Regions from separate parts of the Homo sapiens genome. Here regions 1 and 3 are each linked to region 2. The links are contacts of gene promoters, found by promoter capture Hi-C in blood cells and fetal thymus (Javierre and others, 2016). All regions are on one chromosome and are shown on one strand. The core of a region is centred on a gene start or on the middle of the fragment in contact, and the rest is flanking DNA. Distances in the headings are between cores, read along the strand shown. Region 1 holds the start of ARHGEF3 (Rho guanine nucleotide exchange factor 3). Region 2 holds the start of ARF4 (ARF GTPase 4). Region 3 holds the start of TASOR (transcription activation suppressor).

The links. Contacts are between HindIII fragments. The CHiCAGO score rates a contact against its expected background, and 5 or more counts as called.
Region 1: a contact is called between a fragment that was not itself captured here and the fragment with the promoter of ARF4 in region 2, in 1 of 17 cell types (fetal thymus). The highest score is 5.9, in fetal thymus.
Region 3: a contact is called between a fragment that was not itself captured here and the fragment with the promoter of ARF4 in region 2, in 5 of 17 cell types (fetal thymus, naive CD4 T cells, monocytes and 2 more). The highest score is 11.3, in fetal thymus.

The regions. Positions count from the first base shown.
Region 1 is chr3:56,799,352-56,803,065 of GRCh38, forward strand. ARHGEF3 (Rho guanine nucleotide exchange factor 3) reads right to left here and starts at 2,598. Exons shown (of 10, transcript NM_019555.3): 1 at 2,352-2,598. The coding sequence starts at 2,447. RefSeq lists an enhancer at 184-233 and a silencer at 2,598-2,767. The HindIII fragment of the contact is 4,111 bases long and covers 1-3,714 here.
Region 2 is chr3:57,595,057-57,599,064 of GRCh38, forward strand. ARF4 (ARF GTPase 4) reads right to left here and starts at 2,288. Exons shown (of 6, transcript NM_001660.4): 1 at 2,018-2,288. The coding sequence starts at 2,084. ARF4-AS1 (ARF4 antisense RNA 1) reads left to right here and starts at 2,733. Exons shown (of 2, transcript NR_132370.1): 1 at 2,733-2,995. It also overlaps a transcript of PDE12 not described here. RefSeq lists enhancers at 1,692-1,741, 1,762-1,911, 1,825-3,024, 1,900-2,605, 1,942-1,991 and 4 more. The HindIII fragment of the contact is 2,548 bases long and covers 1,300-3,847 here.
Region 3 is chr3:56,680,040-56,684,108 of GRCh38, forward strand. TASOR (transcription activation suppressor) reads right to left here and starts at 3,226. Exons shown (of 24, transcript NM_001365635.2): 1 at 2,637-3,226. The coding sequence starts at 2,967. RefSeq lists enhancers at 2,057-3,001, 2,209-2,328, 2,749-2,918 and a silencer at 3,059-3,358. The HindIII fragment of the contact is 596 bases long and covers 2,397-2,992 here.

The DNA.
Region 1 (3,714 bases), core at 465-2,964, 800 kb before region 2:
ACACACGGCCATTAAATGTTTAAAGGGCACAGGTGCTCTGTTGCAACGGCCTTTGAAGGTCAACAAGTCCTGTTTTCCTAGAAAGGCCTCTGGATAGATCTATTTTTCTTTTTATTATAACCACATTCTTTCCACAAAGAAAACAATCACTCTTAAAAAAATACTTTCAGAGGAATTAACAGTCAATGCCTAGCTTATAAACAATTATATAATCATGTTTTTCAAAAGGCTGACAAGCGAATGCTATTTTTTAATTTATGAATACTGACGACACCTACTGGTGGAAAATATATTTTAGTTAACTGCTTATGGAGAAGCTAGGCCTACAAGGGTTGGCTGCCTTTTGCGCTGATAAGGAAACCAGAAAACTACCCACTAAACTCACTTAGGTTTCTTTTTCCAATTTTGCCAATTTCCATTATCAGGAAGTGATATGCTCATCGATGAAGCTAAAAGATATCTCTGCCTCAAAGTGTATAAAGCATACTTGATTTAGTGTTTAAATCAAACACTAAAAAACAAAAACCCCAATAGTGATATCTGAAAAATATTTACCAACTATTTCCAAAACTATTCCAACCCCTTCCTTATTTCTCACATCAGGATATCCCCATACGAGGAAAATAAGTCATATTTTATAGTCTAGATCCAGCTACCAATGAAGAAAATTAATATTTGACATGTGATAAGTTTCATATTTGTGATATATAGACATATCTATATTCTATGTATAAGAATAAAATGAAATTAAGCAGGCAAGTTTTACCTAAGCCTTTAGCTAAACTACTCAAAAACACAGGACTAAGTAATAGTAGGAAGGGACTGGTTAGAGTCCTCAGCTATCCTCACTATTCTTTTCTTTGGCCCACTTCAATTTATTAATTTATTGGTTATGCCTTTCTTCCTTACAAGTGGAGTTTGAGTGGGCACCAATTGCGCTGCTCCTATGTTGATTAAATTAGGAAGTTCCCACTGAAAAAATATTATATCCATTCCAGGCCTGACCAACCTGAATTCTATGCAAATGCCACTAGGGCCATCACACTTTCACAGCTGCTGGCAACAAAAACTCTTTGTGATAATATTCGACTGAGCTGGAGTGTAGGGTTGGGTTTGAGTGAGGGAGAAGTTAGTTTGTGCTCAGCGTATAGAAAGCTGAATACAACCAGAGACTGCTTGGAGTCCTGTCAGCCTGGAGCAGCTCTTGCTAGAGGAAATGAATCTTTGATGGTGTGCTCCCGAATATACATGATTCAGTGAGCCAAGTGCATACAGCTGAGCAGACCCAAGGAAGGCGAGTGGGTGGAACCTCAAGAATGCTGTGACAAGGCCGGATGCACACCTGCCTTCAGCCTTTCCCCAGTGGTGGTGGTGATGTTTGATGTTCGCAGAGTGAGGTGTGGGAGAGTGGAAAGCTCCCAGATACACGCATGAGCGGCAATGACTAGCTGGGTCCTGTGGGTTCCACCGCAGCTTGACCACAGCAAAGCTGTAATCTAGCGAAAGCGACTGTATTCCCTAAGACCCTCAAAGAGAGGGATGCTTTCTCCTCCAGCTGAACCCAACCTTTAAGGCCAGTGAGCTATGTGCCAGAGAAATAACACGCAAGAGGAAAAGGCAGACTAAACATAACCTGGGAGCACTCCTTCACATCGCCCGCAAGGCACAGGAAAGTTCCCAGAAAGAGAAATGTTTCCAATGTTCCAAGGCAGCTTTCCATTGACCCTAAGGACTTTAATTCATTTTCAAGATCCATGTGGGAGACACTCCAATTTACTCATTTAGCCCCAGCCCCCCGGCTGAATGACCCTCACTGGCCACAGGTGATAGGCAGAGGCGCTGTGTCCTGTTTTTGCTGCCAAAGGGCTGCAAGGCCAAGTCTGACAGGTGAGAGGGCTGGTACGTCCCTCTGCTCTCACAACCCAGGCAAAAAAAACTCGCTTAAAGGGTAGCGACACTGGGGCTTGCTGACACTTCCCTGACACTGGGGCTTGCTGACAGTAGGAGAAAGTCCCTCTGAGAGTCCAGACAGAAGATGGACAGTCTGAGAGCCCTGCAAAGGCAAGGAGGCAGTTGCTCCCAGACCGGCAGGTAGAGGGACAGGGAGAGAGGAGGCAGCTAGTGCTTGGTCCACAGAGAAAAAGCGAGAGAAAAGGAGACAGGGTGAGAGATGGCGACGGGGAGACACAAAGAAGACTGTGGGAGAGATGTAGAGAGAGAAAGTGGCACACACGGAGAGTGAGAGATGGAAACAGAGACAGTGACACTGGACGGGCGCCGAGAATGGGAGATGGAGGCAGACGAGACAGGCAGATGACCCATAGAGGTCCAGGTGCAGGGCGCGGCCCTACCTCAGCGTCCTTGGCCGGACCGCTGGCCGGGGGTAGCTCCAGGCTGCAGTTCGCTCTCTTGACCGTGAGGTAGAAGGGGTAATCCTTGGCCACCATGGCGGCTGCCGGGCCTGCCCTTTGGGATGTCACCGCTGACCCTAGGCGACTACAAAACTCCCAGGCAAAAGGGGGCCCCAGCTCCACGATGCCGGGCGGCGGCGGCGACACGGAGACCGACAGCCGGCTTCTAGCCGGGCAGGACTCGACTGGGCTCCGGAGCCGAGTGGGCGGGACCGTGCCAGCCACGCCTTGATGGGTGGGGAGGGGGCGGGCCGCCGGCTCGGCACCGCCCCACGCTGCCGGGAGGGCCCACGTGCCGCAGCGCGGACACCTCCTGGGGCTGCGAGGGGCGTGGGGCGGTCCCGCGGGTGGAGAGGGACCTCTCTCTCCCCGCTGGTATTCGACTCCGGGCGCCCCCGCAGAGCGTGGGCCGCGATTGCGGGGCAGGCAGACCCCATGATAGCTCCTTTCGGGCTCTTTGGCACTCTCCGGGTGAAAGGCTGCTGGTAGAAAGGAGGCTGGGGCGAAACCGGGCAACGGGGAGAAAGGAGGCTGTAGTGACACCTGGAGGCAGGAAGGAGCCTGGGGGGAAAAGCGAGCGTTTTAAAAGCCCACATTAGAAAGGGGTGGTGTTCTCTCTTACCCTGTTCCCAGGCCACTGCACGTTTTTTTTGTTTTGTTTTGTTTTTGTTTGGTTTTTTAAATGAATGTCAGTGGAATATAATCTACAAATGGCAAAATGCACCCATTTTAAGAGTACCGTTTGTTGAGTTCTGACAAATGTAAACACCCGTATAACCACCTCCACAGTCGGTATACGAAACATTTCCACCACCCCCGGAAAATTCCCTCGAGACCTTTCCCACTTTGCACCAACTTTTAAATTTGACTAGCATATTCAGAGGCTGCCTGACACTCGAGGGCAATCTGACAGAGTGTCCTTCAAGTATAAAGCTGTGCATGGATGACCTGGCACTACCACACCTTTCTGGATCCTTTTTGGAGAAACAATGACATTATAAATGCCCAAGAAGGCGATTGATCTTAAGGTTGTTTGCAGCAGCCCTGTCTGGGGCAGTAAAAAATAAAAAATAACTGGAAACAATGGTAATATATCCATCAATAGGGAGTGCTTAAATAAACTTTCTTCACTGTGTAATACCGCTTAGCAGCAGTGAAAAAGGAGATGGGTCTATGGGTGTGGCATGGAAAGATCTCCAATGTATTAGACTCAGTTTAAAAATAATTGCAGACTAAGCATAATACAATACCATTTGTGTTAAAAAAAAATACAAGTTTACCAAAGAATATCATATATTTTCTA
Region 2 (4,008 bases), core at 1,038-3,537:
CTCCTAAATCCTCCACACAAATGCAGAAACTTAAATATTTTTTCTCTCCCATTTTCTTCGAATCATTTTTTGGGGTGGAGGGAAATGCCTCCCAATATAGTAAATATATGAAAATGCTGGTAGCATACTTCTATATTCCTTGCCCCTCTGATACTTTCATCAATCACAAAAGACTAAGGAATTGAAAAATAGCAATTCATTTACAATAAATCTTAAGTAAAAAGACCAATATACTATGTGTTCTGGAACATAACCATATATTGTTAAATCTCTTTAACGAACAGACTGGAAATTCATTTATCACAGTCCGAAGTCCTCCCATTAACTTCCGATCCTTTTTCAGACTGCCAACTTTCAGCCACTGAAAACTTAAATATGCTTGCCCTCCTAAAATAATTCTGTCCTCTTGACAAAGGAAATCTAAGAAACTTTGAAAGAAAAAATACTTTATGAATGACTCATAAACAATTGATTCACAAAGTGTAAGTACGCTAAGAGGAAAATAAACATGAGCCAATGTATATACTGTTACTCTTTATATACCTTGAAATATTACAGAAGCTTGTGTTTGCAAGTTTTGATGGTAGTACAGCTCTAAAATAAAACCTCCGGCCGGGCGCGGTGGCTCACGCCTGTAATCCCAGCACTCTGGGAAGCCTGGGTGGGTGGATCACCTGAGGTGAGGAGTTCGAGACCAGACTGGCCAACGTGGTGAAACCCCCGTCTCTACTAATAATACAAAAAATTAGCCAGGCGTGGTGTTGCATGCCTGTAATCCCAGCTACTCGGGAGGCTGAGGCAGGAGAATCTCTTGAACCCGGGAGGTGGAGGTTGCAGTGAGCCGAGATTGCGCCACTGCACTCCAGCCTGGGTGACAAGAGCAAAACTCCGTCTGCAAAAAAAAAAAAGGAAGAGAAAAATAAAACCTCCTCCGGTAGAAAACAAGCTAATGAACCAACAAGTTTCAACGTTCAAAGTTAGAGGGGCTTCTTTCAGCGTTATTCTAGTCCATGGAGCTCAGCTGTGATGTAGACTGCTTACAGTAACCGGGAGCGGTTGCTTACTTCAGCCAACTGACAGCCCTTCTCCCTCAGCTGAGCAAAAACACGCCCCCTAAAAAGTAGTTTTTAAAAAGTCAACTTTCTAAAAAGAAATTTTAAAAAAATTGTAGTTACTATTTAACAAGACTACCATAAAATTCAGCGTCATGATGTTCAGTTACTTGAAAATTTATCAGGTATTTTTTAAAAATTCGTTTCTAAAATTTTTTTGCATTAGACCTTAGACCGCCTAAAAATAAGCTTAAAAACCTAGGAGAATAAACCAAACACATTTAAAGTTTTTGAAAATAGTCAAAGAAATAGAAGATAAGCTCAGTTTTCGGAGAATGAGATTAACAAGGAGCGAAAAACTTGAAACGGAATCCAGCGCAAGGCCAAGTTTAGCAAAGTGAGCGCTGAAGGACTCCAGACTCTTCGGAAACCTTGGGTGCTCCCTGGCCACCGCAACTTCCTGCCCCGGGCGGCTCCAGGCTCCGGGTGGCCGCTGGCTTACATACCAATGGAGTATGCAGGGACTGTACACGAAACGCAGAAGGGGAGGGAAAAGGCTGGAGTTGCTCTGCCTCCCTCCTGACCGCTGTCCACACCCGGGCAAGAAGGTATGCAGATCGCACCCCCAGAAAGGGCCTCGCCAAGTGTTTGCTTCCCAGAGTTGGCTTTCCCCACATCTCTGCCCAATGTTGTCCAGCTTTCAATAAGATCAAGGAGAAAAAGCCGAGTCCAGAAAGAAATCTTGCCCGAAGCCCTGTCCCTGTCTCGTCTGGCGACAGATCGGGGGCGGGGGGGATCGCTCACCCTCCGCTCCATTGTTCCCCCTTAAGAATTCCTTCCGACCCCCGACCCGGCGCCCCTCCCCCACCACAGCGGGCGGAGGAAAAAAACAGGCCCAGAGGCCACCCCAATTGTGGAGACCCTGCCTTTCCCAGGTCCCGCCTGACTCGCAGCCCCTCACTCACCCATCAAAATGCGCATCTGCTTCTTGCCAAATAGTCGGGAGAAGAGGGAGGAGATAGTGAGGCCCATGGCGGTAGTGGCACTTGTGATGGGCAGAAGCAGAAGGGGTTTGGGGCGACCCCGTGCTTTCTCCTTTCAAGCTCCCAGGCAAACTAAACGAGAGGGAAGAGAAAGAGCGGAGGAAGAAAGAGGGAGGCAGAAACGTCTCAGTGGCCCCTGTGCCGATGAAGATCCGGCACAGGAATAAGCCGGTAGAGGACCTGCTAGGCGACTGGCGCGGCAGCTCCGGCTCTAGCCTTTAGGCTCTGGCTGTGCCACGTCACGCGGCGGCCGCGGCGACTCCAGCAGCGGCCCGGCCCCTCCAACGCGGACAGAATCGCGTCACCGCCGCCCCATCCCCCTGCGCTTCCGGTGCGCCCGAGCCACTGCGCTTGCGCCTGCAGGGGATTGGCCAGTTTCGCTGACGAGCATCTCTCGACGGCGCCACCGCCCGGACGTGGCCCCAGGAGCCGGGAGAGGCCGGCTGAGGCACATGCGTACTGGGAGACGGACAAAGTCCCACAATACCTCGCTTCGTCACTGCCAAATCAGACTCAGGGTGAGACGCTTCCGCCCGGATGAAGGTATTGTCGGGGTGATAGTCCTTGCTTCCGGAAAGGCGAGCTGAGCATTATGGGTTAGGTGAGGAACCTCGCCCTCTTCTATTACGGTACGCGCGATGGGTATTCCCTGATGCCATGAACTTACACGTTTCACACACGGGACCAGACGCTTGCTTTAGTTGACGCATGAAGACCGGTCCGGTCTTTTGCGGAGAAAAGTGGTTAAAAGCTGACTTGTGGGCCGAGAAACTGTGGCACCCTAATGAGCTAGGGCTAGACGCTTCGACCACCACGCCAAGTGATTCTGAAGATCTCTAATTCTGTCAAGGCGAGAGCGCTCCAACACGTGTTCATCGGCTGTTGCTTTTTAAAGAGAAGGCAAGGAGGAAGTCTTGCTTTTCTTGTACTTTTTTTCCTAGAAGCAGCATTAAAGATTTACTCCTTATGTTGAGGAAGCGGAAAGCCTCTTCACTTTAAAAGTGTTTATGATCGGGCCTGGCGCGGTGACTCACCGCGCCCGGCCTGCTACACCTTTTAAAATTCACAGCAATGATAAATGTATTAGACTCATTGCCAGGATAAAGATTTAATCTATTTTTCTAGTAGTGCCGTCCTATGTGGTTCTGTAGTTGCTTATTCCAACTGGTATATTTCCATAGGATGGGGTTGAATAAGAAAAACTTGCAAACTTTCAGAAACAGTAAGTTATTTTTATATTTTTGAAGGCTTGCTGAGTAACGCTTCTCTTGGTAGCACTACCTTATCTACCCTTCAGAGACTGTTATTTCTTAGGAGTGGCCCTGGGCAATTAAAAGCAAAAACTTCTGGCCGGGCATAGTGGCTCATGCCTGTAATCCCAGCACTTTGGGAGGCCGAGGCGGGCAGATTACGAGGTCAGGAGATCGAGACCATCCTGGCTAACACGGTGAAACCCAGTCTCTACTAAAAATAGAATAAATTAACCGGGCGTGGTGGCGGGTGCCTATACTCCCAGCTACTCCGGAGGCTGAGGCAGAAGAATGGCGTGAACCCGGGAGGCGGAGGTTGCAGTGAGCGGAGATCGCGCCCCTGCACTCCAGCCTGGGCGACAGAGCGAGACTGTCTTAAAAAAACAAACAACAACAACAAAAAAACCCCAAAAACTTCTTTACTCAGAAGTACCCTCCTTTGCATTGGAGATACATGTAAAGAGTTGCTTAGCAGTTGAATAACTCAAAATTGCATTTTGGAAGCTTGCTAAGTGACAAGACCTTCTTGTATCCTTTTGTGAACCCCCAAAATATGAGACAGGCCTCAGTTAATTTAGAAAGTTAATTTTGCCAAAGTTGAGGACACGCGTCCATGACATAGCCTCAGGAGGTCTTGTAGACATGTGCCCAAGGTGATCAGAG
Region 3 (4,069 bases), core at 1,445-3,944, 910 kb before region 2:
AAGGGGGGGAACAGTTTTTGTTACTAACAGGTCAGGTCAAAAGCAGCTAACTTAAACCCTTAGATTATTCAAACTGGGTAGCAAGATTTTTCTTTTTTATAGTAGTAAAAGTACTCTACAACTACCTTCAAATTCCATCTCCACAACTTAGCTGTGTGACCTGAAGCAAGTTACCTAACTTCTCAGTACTTTAGTCTCCTCATCTGTAAAATGGGAATAGTACCTACCACAAAACATTGTTGAGATTTAGTCAATGTATGTAAATTGCTTAGAACAATGCCCACAACTTATTAGGCACTATACAAGTGTTTGCCAATATTATTACTCAATTACAATGGCAGTTATTTTGGATGTCACACTACTGGGAAGACCAAAAAAAGAACTTTCTGAGTCAAGTTGTATTTGCATAGCAGTGACCTTTAAGGTATTAAAATATTTAAGTCCTAATCTTAAATTTCACTGGAAAAGCACAGTCACAAGAAAAGGTCTACCATATTAAAATATGAATGCAACAGAACCTGCACTGTTTTTGAATTTTTTTAATAAAGTTGAATTTATGTATTAAATTCTATCAGCAACCACTAACTTCTCTCAGCTTGAACAAGATAAAATTCATGGTGGTAAAATAGCTGCTTATTTAATTTTTTAAAGTTCTATTTAAATCGCTATTTTACTATTTGAACAGCTGGTGTTCAGGGTATAAATAATTACACAAGTTAAAAATTGCTCATTTTCACTAATCATGACAAAGTCCACTGCGATATATTTTCCTCCCAACTTTTGTCTGTAAGTAAAAATGGAAAATACAAGTTTTACCCAAGAGGTACAAGACTATGGGGGACAACAGCTAGATTTATATTTCCTAATCCCTCAATTATTTCCACTTTTAGTGTGTTCAGCTGAAGTCTATTTTACAACAATCTCTGGATTTTATCTAATTTTAAAAAAACACACAAACACAGTGCCTTTCCAGTTCCTACTGCCTTCCCACATTTCAAACTAAATTTTGAAGAGTTTCTAGGCCAATCTTCTGGTCCTAACAAACAGTAAAAAAAAAAAAAAAAAAATCACGGTTTGTCCATATTCTTAGGCACTTAAACCTTAAAAATAGATTTCAAACGGCTTTTATCAAGCTGTGAAGAAAAAAAATAGTTCCACCTCCTACCTCATAACCAGAGCCCATTTGAATGTACTTCCTACCTATTCTCTACCAATTGATTACACTGGGAACTTTTCTCATACAGACTATAATCATACATCTCAAATTTTAACTAAATACACGAAAAGAACTGAGTTTTGACCTTTAAAAGTATCTTTCTGAACCCTAAAATTACATTAACTCAAAAGATATTTCTAGAAACATTCCTCATGCTAATTTCCAAAGGTTAACTTCATCTTTGTCAACATGGTTTCTCACACCAAGTATTTTCTTGGCTTTGCCATCCAAACAAATGAACTTTATTTGTATTTTTCCAATAAAAGGCTCAAACAATTCCAGTAGTGCAAATGGAACTGGTGATGCTTATGGAAAGTCAGTATAATGCTACAGCCAAGACTCTGTACCAGATGGATGGAAAAGATACGGGAAAAAAACAAATCCTATTTTTTTCCAAAGTAAATAATGAAAACCTAACCATACAGTAGGGCAAAAAGGAAGTTGTCTAAATTCAGAATATCCAAAATTTACTGGATAGTTAAAAAATAATACCCCAATAACAAAAAACGATACTAATTTTGACCTCCATTAGGAATTCTGACTCCATATTAACAATATGGCATTAAGATTTTTTAAAAGTACAAGTAATTAATGTAACTGTTTCCATATGGGTTCCAAAAACTAAGACTGGACTTTTTTTTAACCTGAAGTTCTACCATCTAGAAGACCAAGTTGGTGACTCTTGAGAATAAGGTAACTTCTCATTAGTTTTTTTCCATTGGGAAATTACTGCTCCAAGAACCTACCTTTCCATTCTTTTCAAATATAAGAAAAACAATACTAAGTTCGAATTTAAAGAGAGAAAAACCTATTTAATCTAACGCTTCAAAAACAAGGGGGAAAAATCTACATGGAAATGAAGTGTGATGGAAAACAGCAGTGTGCATGGATCACATCTACTAATAGAGATTTCTAAATAAGGGAGGACGCTGACATCAAGCACATTTCAAGTAGACACACAGAACTGAAGAATTTCCACGGGGAGAAGCACTCATGGTCCTCAGAACATTGGCAATGGCCTTGGAGAAAGCCCCAGAATCCATGGCCACGGGCTATTTCCATAGCGAGACTTCTCAGAAGCATCCTTAGGAGGACACAACGGCTTCTCTGCTTTCAGGGGCTGGGAGGGAGGGGCGCCGAGCACCATCTTTCCTCTCTGGGAGCTGCAGCCTTACGGACAAGCTTCAAACCTGAGCTACTTCCAACTTCCGCGGGGAGGGGCAGCAGGGGAGCGTGGTTCCACCGCTTTCTCTCGCACCAAACGCGGCAGCTGGGCGGCCGTGGCGGTGAGGGGAGAGGCGGCCGGCGCTGCATGCGTGTTTACGTATCTCGGATGGGTGTGGGAAGAGGAGATAGAAAGATTCTAATGAAAAGATGGAGGGGAGAGAGAGAGGGGGTTGAGAAGAAGGGGAGGCACCACCTTTCTTTTCTCTGCTCTTCCTGGGGATCTGAAAACTCCTCCTAACAGGCCTTTCGGGCTCTTCGGGGCCTCTGGGCAGGGCGGCCGCGCCCGCCTCAGAGGAGTCCTGAGGCTGCTCGTGGCTGAGGCTCTGGGCGGCCTCGGCCCCCGCGTTCTCCTCACGCCCAGCGCCGCCGCTGGGCTCAGCGATGTTGAGGCCGCCGCCGCCGCCATTTTGTTGGGAGGACTCAAGCTCCGGAAGCGCCTGCTTCATCTCGTCGTCTCCGCCGCCGCCACTTTCCCAACTCGCATCCGTCGGCTGACAGGCCTCCGTCTCCACAGCAGTCGCCATCGCGCCGGCCTAAGGAGCTCTGGGAAGCTTCTGCCCACAAGGTCGACGGGTGTGGGGGGAAGGGGCGGCGGGCCAGTCTCGCCGCCGAGCTGCTCTCAGCCCACCCACCCCCTTCCCCCCGTGGCCTCAGGCTGCGCTCCCGACCTGGCAGCCTCTTGGGGGGCCCTGTAGCGGGCACCCCAAATGCGCTGCCCGGTCCTCGGAGCCGCTCCTCCCTCGGGCAGTTCTTCTGCCTTCCCCCGCCACTCAACGTGCGCGCGTCGGGGCCGGGAGGGGGCGGGGCCACCGCGGGCCACTCCACCAATGGGAGCGCGGCACCCGCCTGCGCGAGTGCGGAAATACCGCGCCGGGGGGCGGAGTTTCGGGGCGCCCGAGCCCGCCAAAAGGGGCGACCGCAACGCCCCGCGAGGACCTCGACGCCGCAGCCGTGGCCTGCGGAATGCGTGGGCCCCTGGCGATCTTCGGGTTCCCGGGGATTCCCCCGCCGCGCTGCAGGCGAGGGAGACTAGCTTGGCCTCTTCTCCGGAGCGCAGGCGTCGCCCATTTGTGGGCAAAACCCTTCCTCTGCGCACGAGTTATCTCGGCCCAAACGGGCTTCAGAGCAGTGGATGCGGGACGATCTCGGTTTTATGAACTATTTGCATGTGTACAAAAACCTGGAGAGGAGATAAAAGAATGGGCTAGGCGGTAATAGCCTAAAAGCCTCGACAGCCTTTGCGACCTGCTATTCTCACCGGATCTTGTATCTTTATGATAGATTACTCGCACCCGGCCTTCTCTTTTATCTCAGAGAGTGTGACCCAGTGTCACAGCTCCAGCAAGCACTTTCACCTGAGATCCTCTGATGGGACTTAACAACCTAGTGTTAACAGGATTTGGTTCTGGGGAGTTTGAGGGGAGGAGGCTGTTAACTTTTCCCATTTTTTTCCTTTAGTCGCACCCCCCCCCACCACACGCCATGGAGACCGCACCTGGCCTCCATTTGTTCCCTTTCTATGGTTACTTCTGTTAAAAATCTGGCCACTGATAAACCTCTAACTCCACTGTTTCTTCCACTGGAACGTTCATCAACGTTTTCCTATAGTAAATGTATATTAAAGAA